Linked DNA regions of Homo sapiens: region 2 is linked to region 1. The links are contacts of gene promoters, found by promoter capture Hi-C in human tissues and cell types (Jung and others, 2019). All regions are on one chromosome and are shown on one strand. Each heading gives the region's core, a stretch centred on a gene start or on the middle of the fragment in contact. The rest is flanking DNA. Distances are from core to core; before and after follow the strand shown.

Region 1 (4,427 bases), core at 1,858-4,357:
ACCCCGTCTCTACTAAAAATACAAAAAAATTAGCTGGGCGTGGTGGCGTGTGCCTGTAGTCCCAGCTACTCCGGAGGCTGAGGCAGGAGAATGGCATGAACCCGGAAGGTGGAGCTTGCAGTGAGCCGAGATTGCGTTACCGCACTCCAGCCTGGGCAACTCAAAAAAAAAAAAAAAACTTTTGAGCTTCAAAGGACACTATCAGAAAGTGAAAAGACAACTAACCTGCAGAATGAGATAAAATATCTGCAAATCATATATCTGATAAGCATCTAGTATCTAGAATATATAAAGAATTCTTATAACTCAACAATAAAGAGGCCGGGCCTCTTTACATGCCTGTAATCCCAACACTTTGAGGGGCCAAGGTGGGAGGATCACTGGAGTCCAGGAGTTTAAGACCAGCCTGACCTAGTGTCTACAGACATTTTTTTTTTTTTGAGTCACAGTCTCACTCTGTCACCCAGGCTGGAGTGCAATGGCATGATCTCAGCTCACTGCAACCTCCGCCTCCCGGGTTCAAGCAATTCTCCTGCCTCAGCCTCCCAAGTAGCTGGGATTACAGATGCCCACCACCATACCCAGCGAATTTTTGTATTTTTAGTAGAGACAGGATTGCCATGTTGGCCAAGCTGGTCTTGAACTCCTGACCTCGTGGTCCACCTGCCTCAGCCTCCCAAAGTGCTGGGATTACAGGTGTGAGCCACCGCACCCGGCCTGGAAAATTTTAAAAAATCATCTGGACATGGTAGCATGTACCTGTAGTCCTGGCTACTTGGGGTGCTGAGTTGGGAGGATTGCTTGAGTCTGGGAGGTCGAGGATGCAGTCAGCAGTGATCATGCCACTGCACTCCAACCTGGGCAACAAAGGGAGACCCTGCCAAAAAAAAAAAAAAAAAAAGGCCGGGCGCAGTGGCTCATGCCTGTAATCCCAGCTCTTTGGGAGGCCAAGCCGGGCAGATCACAAGGTCAAGAGATTGAGACCATCCTGGCCAACATGGTGAAACCCCGTCTCTACTAAAAATACAAAAATTTGCTGGGTGTGGTGGCGTGCGCCTGTAGTCCCAGCTACTCGGGAGGCTGAGGCAGGGGAATCGCTTGAACCCAGGAGGTGGAGGTTGCAGTGAGCTGAGATCGTGCCACTGCACTCCAGCCTGGTGACAGATCAAGACTCCGTCTCAAAAAACAAAAACAAACAAACAAACAAAAAACATCAATTTAGAATAGTACCTGGAACATAGTAAAATCTATAAATATTAGCTATTGCATGTATACAGCGATAGCCAATTGTTCCACCACGATTTGTAGAATCCTTTTCCCTCTGATTTTATTTTTATTTATTTATTTATTTATTTATTTATTTATTTATTTTGACACGGAGTTTCGCTGTTGTTGCCCAGGCTGGAGTGCAATGGCGGGATCTTGGCTCACTGCAACCTCCGCTTTCCAGGTTCAAGTGATTCTCTTGCCTCGGCCTCCTGAGTAGCTGGGATTTACAGGCGTGAGCCACTGCGCCCGGCCAACATACAAATTTTTCTTATATATTTAAGGTATGTTTCCATCACTGTATTCTTTTAAGTAGGAATTGTTTTAGGGGAGAATAGTTTGGAAGCCAAGACTCCTCTCAACTTTTCTCAATTCACTACATAAGAAAGAAAGATTTTACATCTGTTTCATTTTAGGTATCTAGGGAGAAATCACCCAGATTCTTCCTACCTCTCAGAGGGTGCTGTGAGGATAGATGAGATGCTAGACAGAAAGTTCAGAAAGCTGAGTAACATAAAGCTGCAAAAGGAGAGAACAGAGATTCCATAGATAATATTTTAAGTCAACTACAATTCGTTAAATTTTAAGAAAATTATTTATTTTATTTATTTATCGAGACAGGGTTTCACTCTGTTGTCCAGGCTGGAGTGCAGTGGCCTGATGTGGGCTCACTGCCACCTCAACCTCCTGGGCTCAAGCGATCTTCCCACTTAGCCCCCCGAATAGCTACTACAGGTGCAGGCCACCATGCCCGGCTAATTTTATATTTTTTCGTAGAGCTGAGTTTTCGCCATGTTGCCCAGGCTGGTCTCAAATTCCTGGGCTCAGGCGATCCTCTTGCCTCGGCCTAGCAGTGTTGGGATTACAGACGTGAGCCACTGCACCCAGCCTGTTTTTTGTTTTTCTTTTTTCTTTTCCTGGTTTGTCTTGAACAAGACATATAAATGTAAGACTATAGACTTTGCATTTGATATTTCCCCCGAAATCTTCCCAGGTCATAATTCAACTCCTGGTGTGTTACTTCCTCAAAGAGGTCTTCTCTCAAACACTAGGAGTAAAGCTTCTTCCCCACTCCTAGTCACCTTCTGTCTCACTATCCTGAAGCGCTTTTCACTATTTGAAATATTTGTGTTTATTGGCTTTTTAACTGTCTCCCCTTCCTCACTCAAATATAAATTCTACCTGGGTTGGTAACTCCTTAACCCCATGCTTAGAACAATGCTTTGCACGGGGGGTATAGCTCAGGGATAGAGCATTCGACTGCAGAACAATGCTTTGCATGTAGTATGCCCTACGTTTTGTGAAAATATTTGCTGAATAATATAGTGATTTTAAAAAATCCCCAAGCAGTTTCATGTATCTCATTTGATCATTACAACTATTTGAATAAAATGAGATTGTTAGTCCCATTGTACAGAGACTCAGAGAAGGTTTTCACCCAAGGCAATAGGGCTAGTAAAATGGTAGTGTTAGAATTGCTGTGCGGGTGGATTGCTTTGTCCGTACATGGACTTCATTTCTAGCGCTAAGGGTATTTTAAATTACTTTGCCGTTAAGGAAGCGATGACTCTGAAAGATAGTAGTAACCACCACTACAGGCACCTGTAAAGATCCTCTCTCCTTTTTCCTTTCTTTCTCCCGCTAGATTCTGCAGCCGAACACGTGTGACCTGTGTGGACAGTACTCGCTCAGTCTCCCTCCCCAGCCCTGCCCACAGTAAGCCCGGCCCCTTCTTTTCCCGGAGCCCCCGCCTCTCGGCCGCTTTCCAACTCAGCCCCCACGGATCTCGCCCTTCCCCCGCGGACCCATGACTTCTCGCGAGAGTTGAGCGCGCCTGGCCGGACGGGAGGAAAGTATCCGTTCCGCCAAGGGGGGAAAGGAGGAGCTGGAGACAGATTGTAGGACCGAGCGCGGGCAGGCGGGAGGCAACGGAGCTACCAGCCGGTAAGTCCTTTTAACATTAGCTAGTCCATGATCTGACGGGAGTCTCCCTTTCAACTCTGGCCAGTCCCAGCGTTCCAGGCTGGGGTCTCCCCTCCCAGTCTGTGTTGGACGGGGGCGCTGAGGCGGTGGCCGGGCCCTGTCTGAGGAAGAGGGTGGGGCATAGGCCAAAGCCGACCAATGGGAGAGAAGGAAGCCTCGATTGGCGGCGATGAGCGCTAATGGGAGATCGCTTTTACGTTGCCGAGCGCCGCCCTTCTCTCCCTACTCCCGCCTCCTTCCTTTGGGGGGAAGGCGGGGCCAGAGGCTTGAAGTGTGGGGAGAACTTGGTGTAAGTAGCCCCGGGGGGCACAGGGCGTGGCAAGGAGAGGGGAATTGAATCCTGAGGGAAGGGTAGTCTAGTGGAGCCTAATGGAAGGATCATGGGATGGGGTGGAATGGGAGAAAGAGGAGGGATACTAAACTAAGTTAGAAACCCAGGGCTTCCCAAAGAGTGGGATTAGGAGCTTGGAATTGGAAAAGGGTAATAGGAAGGAGGTAGGAATGAGTAGATGAGAACAAAGATCTTGATCTGGTGACACAACACCCCGTTGGGTTTGGCAGAAAAGATAGATGGGGTGGATTATTGGAAATGAGGGTCATGGCATTTTGATTGAATTAATTAAAAGAACATCAGGGACATGATATCAGAGAGAAAGTATGGATTTGGAGAAAATTAAGTGAATTAATTTAAGAGGACAGTATGGGTGAGCTGAGTCGCCATAAGGCATGGCTTCTGGAAGGATATGAGCCTTGAGAGCGATAAGAGGTGTTTGGGAAGGAGATGGCTGATATACACATGTCTTTAGCCTAGGTATCAGGTGGTTGGGATATTGATTTAGGGCTTCTGGTGGATATGGCACCCAGACTGGTGACCAGCCTCCAAGATGCTGGGATGGGGGTTGAGAAGGAGAAAAATAGAACGCTTTCATCGCTTCTCTGATTTTCCTTCTCCCTCTCTTCTATTACCCAAACTCTTCCCAGACACCAGGATGTGGTCTTGGGACTTAAGCAGTCCAAGTTGGAGCCCCATAGGGACTTAATATGTTGCTCTGAATTGCTTGTTATGTTCTCTGACTGGGGTGTTTACAACCCAGGGCACCTCCTACCCAGATTCCCGCGTTGCTACTTTCCTAACTTTAAAAGTTTGTTTTCTGCTTAACAGAGGGTGTTTTAGTATC
Region 2 (4,637 bases), core at 962-3,461, 150 kb after region 1:
AGACAAAATAATTTGTTTCAACTCTGTAGCTCACTCTACAAGCTCCTAGATCTTGTCAAGCCATATCCTCCATCTAAACATACCTGGCTACAATGCCTTTCTGTTTCAAAGAGATAGTCATTTGAGGTCCTGGAATCCAATTTAGGGCTTTCAGGGAAAAGTATTTAAGTACTCAGTATGCTTCACTGGTAGGTAGGTAGGCAGCAAGACTTTGCCCTCATTTTGAATAGAACCAAATGTATAAGACTTCATTTCAGTTCATAAGATAAGTTATTTCATAAGATTTTAAACTGATTAGCATAAAATATTTGTGATATGTGGTCATGAAAACATGATTGGTAATTCACCATCTGTATCCCTTCCACAACAATGCAAAGCCAAAAGCTGGGTAGAAAAGCAAGGGCCAAAAAACTGCAAAGTCCTTCGACTACAAACTATTTACTTTTAGTCAGAAATGGTTTCTCCACCTCAGTATTAAGGGAATATTTAGGGTTTTTTTTTTTTTTTTTTTTTTTTTTTTTGAGACAGAGTCTTGCTTTGTCACCCAGGCTGGAGTACAGTGGCGCGGTCTCGGCTCACTGCAAGCTCCGCCTCCCAGGTTCACGCCATTCTCCTGCCTCAGCCTCCCGAGTTGCTGGGACTACAGGCGCCCACCACCATGCCCAGCTAATTTTTTTATGTTTTTAGTAGAGTCGGGGTTTCACTGTGTTAGCCAGGATGGTCTTGATCTCCTGACCTCGTGATCCACCCGCCTCGGCCTCCCAAAGTGCTGGGATTACAGGCGTGAGCCACCGTGCCCGGCAGGGGATATTTAGTTCTTAAAAGGGGGGTAGATTCGTGCCAATTTCAAAACACAATGATCTAAGGAAAGGTAAACAATAGCCCTGGATTAAAGGGTTCAGTAAGAACTGAAGGTCTAAGAAAGGAACTGCTAGATACCATTAGATCTAGGACCTGAAAATTTAAGTTCATAAAAATTGGTGGTAGCACTCTGGCCCCACCAGAGCTCTGAAAGAAATGTTCTGAATGTGTATCAAGCCCGAATGGGGATTTGCTGGGGTGGGGGAGGTGACGCAGGGAGAAGGGGATGCTATGAAATACTGAGTCAGGTACTCTAGGATAAAAGACCACATGGGGGAGCTCTAGGGTTTAAAAAAATTTAAAACTGAGGCCCTTTGGAGGTAGTGATGGTAGCTAGACCCTTAAACATGTGGAATCCTTCCTTGGGGAATAGCCATTAGGTTAAGAGGCCTTCCAATCAAGAACTAGATAAAACCACATCCCTGGGGGGAGATGGTATCAGCATGATTAAGTCCTAACTACAGGAGGAGCAAGCTTACCAAGGGAGAGAGCTGGACCACATGATAAAGGAGCAACTAAATAAAACTCCTTACTGGACAGGTTTGGCCATCTAATCCTTTATGCATACTTGAGACGTGTAACACTTCTTCACAGGCCCAATCTGGGATGGAGGGGCCAAAATAACATCAAAGAATGAGATAATATATTGGAATACTAACAGCTTTTTTTTTTTTGTCAGCCAATGGTGATGCTGGGAAAAGGTCATCAGGGAAACTATCTCTACACTGAGTTCTCTAATGCCCTGGGAAGAGCATTACACTTTCAGCACTGTGGCAACGTGTACTCTCGTTGAATGGAAGGCTATCAGAGGCCTTATACCACCATACTAAGAACATTTCTACTGTTTTATGAGAGGCCTGTGCCCATCTTAGTATAAGAAAATGAACAAGATTTCAGGGAGGTTAGTACGATTGAGTAAAAGTAAAGCTTAAGTTGTTAGTCCTGGCTAGTCACTCATAACCTATGAATTTAAATTATCTTAGGGCCTCTATTTTTTAATCTGTAAAATGAGGGGATCAATGTGTTACAGATTAGTTGATCCTTAAGGTTCCTTCCAAATCTAAGCATGTCACTTCCTACTCCTGATAGTGCTGGTGGGGAGCAGAAAGGATACGGCCAGGAATAGAAAAAAGGGTAAAGAAACTTGGTTGACAGAGTTGGTTTAGGACTAGTGGATGGCATCATGTCAAGTTGTGGATAATGTCACGGGTTGGCTGAGATATACCTAATGTCACAGAAAGAGGCATAATGCTAATTCAGAGGAATGCAGACAGAAGCTGCCTAATTTTATTAGACTTATCCCACTTTGCCCCTCCCCTTCATTCTGGGTAAAGAAGTATGTTCTTTGAATGTATGACTTGGAAGAGATCCTCATGGTAACCATTCACCAGAGGAATCCTGGGATGAACACCTTGTTAGCTGCTGCTGGCAAGGTAAGGCCATCTGAGAAGTCAGATAAACTTCCTCACTAGTGAAGCTTGTTGCCAATTACAGAGGACCTTCAGGATCTAAACTGCCACAGACTCGTTATCTCTTTGTGGAAATATTGACAAACGACTATAAAATTCACTTGGGATTCAAAAAGCCCATGTCAGTTATACAGGCTTCCTAGCTGAATAGCCACAAGTCACAAGCCCCCAACCCTTTACCCTTCACAGCACACAGTGTACTAAGGTTCTTACTGCGCCAACTTTATTACAGCTAGAAACACAAATATGGCCAAGAAGGCCTGCTGATAGCTTAACCATTAAATAATTCTTAAAAAAAAAAAAAAAAGTTAACGAAGCAGCTTTTATTCATTAACACAGAGCCTAACACATTGTTATATTGCAAGGCAGAATAAAGCTACAAAGAAAAGTAACAAACAAGAAAGAAGAGAAAACTGTGGCTCTAGATAAAGAATTCAAGTCAGACCCTGAAACAGGCACTCAGCTGAAATGGCCTAAACCTAAACAAGGGTTACCACTCCCCCACCCCCACCCAGTTATCCCCCAAAGTAGTAAAAAGGAAACGGTAACAAGCTCACAATAGTTTCATTCTCACCAATGTTAACAAAGGAAAACAAAATGAACAAAATAATACTGGAGGAGGTGCCTCAAGGTATGCAATCAGTAGGGAGAGAATCTCTGTTTCTCGCCTTTCAGTTTGTTAGTTACACATGGCACGGCAGAGGTGGTGGTGGTGGTAGCTGAAGCCCCGGTACCCTTAGCAGCAGACACAACATTTAGAGCCAGGAGAGGGATGGGTTTCATGCCAAGCAGACTGGAGACACAAGGGGCGGTCGGAAGAGGGTTGGGGAGGCTGGAGGGTGCGTCGGAGGTCCCCGCTGTGGCGAGCGAGGGGGTGGTGGTGGAGGAGGAAGAAGAAGAAGGGGTGGAGGGTTGAGAGAGGTTGATGCTGAGGTGATCAGGGATCGTGACGGAGGCTGCCTGGGAGGAGGGTTTAGCGTTTTCTAAACTGTAACAGAGGAAAAAAGGAACAAAAAAAAAGGGTGGGTGGAAGGGAAGACCACAAAAGGGAGTAAGTACAGGACAAAAACTGCTTCAGTTATATCAGTAAGTGCCTCTGGTTGACAATTAGGAAGACCTAGTGTCAACTTGTGACAAGCTTTCTTTTAGCCTATGTCCCACCCTCTAAATATGTATATTTCCATTCCACAGAGCTACTTAAAAACTGCTATGGTGAAGAAAAAGCTGACAGAGAAAAGAAATCATAGGGCACATACTTCATGTATCTGACACACTGACCCAACCCAGATGTTGAAGGAATGATTTCGGGTAGAAAAAGATACTCATCAATCACCCAACAAGGAAGAAATGTTTCCTCTAATCAAATGTCAATTTCCTATTCTAACAGAAAATCAATTATCCCACAATTACTTGTGAAGCTTTGAATATTTATAAAGCAGAATTTTTAAAAATCCTTCCAGCTATGTATTAAAGTCTGCTTACATCTCCACAGCAAACAAACCAGTATCAGGGTGGAAAGAGACAAGAGTCCAAAGTAGGTCACTGACTAATTTCAAATTTCAAAGAATGTAGCGTTTTCAAAGAAAAATGCTGAGAACAGAAGTGTAGATAAGAACTAGGGAAGCTTTTCTGGTGGGAGGTGGTATAAAAAGTTGTTTCTGACTGATCATACTTCTAATGTGGACCTTTCAGAAGTGGAAAAGAGAAACTCAAGTATCACCTAAAAATTCATACTTAAGCGAAAATGCTGCTGCTTCCACTCCCAAAATAAGCTCCACAGAACAGTAAGGGTACATGTCTCCCAAATGCCTGTATGTGTCTAAGCCAGAACTACATATATTTGGGAAGTGTGCCTGGACAATTGAGCCCACAACGCTAAGTCTTCAAGAGCAGAAAGGCTCCTCTTAAAACCTCATTTTATTTACCTATGTCCAAGGACAGCTGCAATCCATAAAGGAAAGGGATACAGAAGTCAACTAACTATATAAAAGGACAGACTGCCACCATGAAAAATCAAGAGACAGGAGAAAATGCTCAGAATCCAGTAAAATCCTTCTTGACTTAAAAAAAATGAGAAAGGAAAAAAAAAAAAACCCTTTGACTTCTGCATTTAAACTGCACCAAGTTGAGAAAGAATAAGCTTTGTGCATGCATAATCTTTGCTTTGGTGTTAGATGAAGCTTTGAAAAGTTTTGACCCTAATCCATGGCTAAGATACCGAATTGCTATTCAGTAACAATGATCCTGAAAAGAGCCACTCTACCAAGAGAATTCTGCTTCCTTACAATGTAGCCACTGACCTATTGC

The links. The method cuts DNA at HindIII sites, captures the fragments that hold promoters and counts their contacts. A contact is called where the count stands out against the background at its distance.
Region 2: a contact is called between a fragment that was not itself captured here and the fragment with the promoter of ATF7 in region 1, in 1 of the 25 tissues and cell types used here (hippocampus).

Annotation. Positions count from the first base shown.
Region 1 is chr12:53,625,062-53,629,488 of GRCh38, reverse strand. ATF7 (activating transcription factor 7) reads left to right here and starts at 3,107. Exons shown (of 12, transcript NM_006856.3): 1 at 3,107-3,210. It overlaps ATF7-NPFF (ATF7-NPFF readthrough), which reads left to right and starts at 3,107. Exons shown (of 15, transcript NR_159377.1): 1 at 3,107-3,210. RefSeq lists an enhancer at 3,181-3,250. The HindIII fragment of the contact is 8,169 bases long and covers 781-4,427 here.
Region 2 is chr12:53,473,550-53,478,186 of GRCh38, reverse strand. The region is part of intron 14 of PCBP2 (poly(rC) binding protein 2); the gene reads right to left. Among named protein-coding and RNA genes, the nearest start is that of PCBP2-OT1, 11 kb to the right of the region's middle. The HindIII fragment of the contact is 4,559 bases long and covers 1-4,490 here.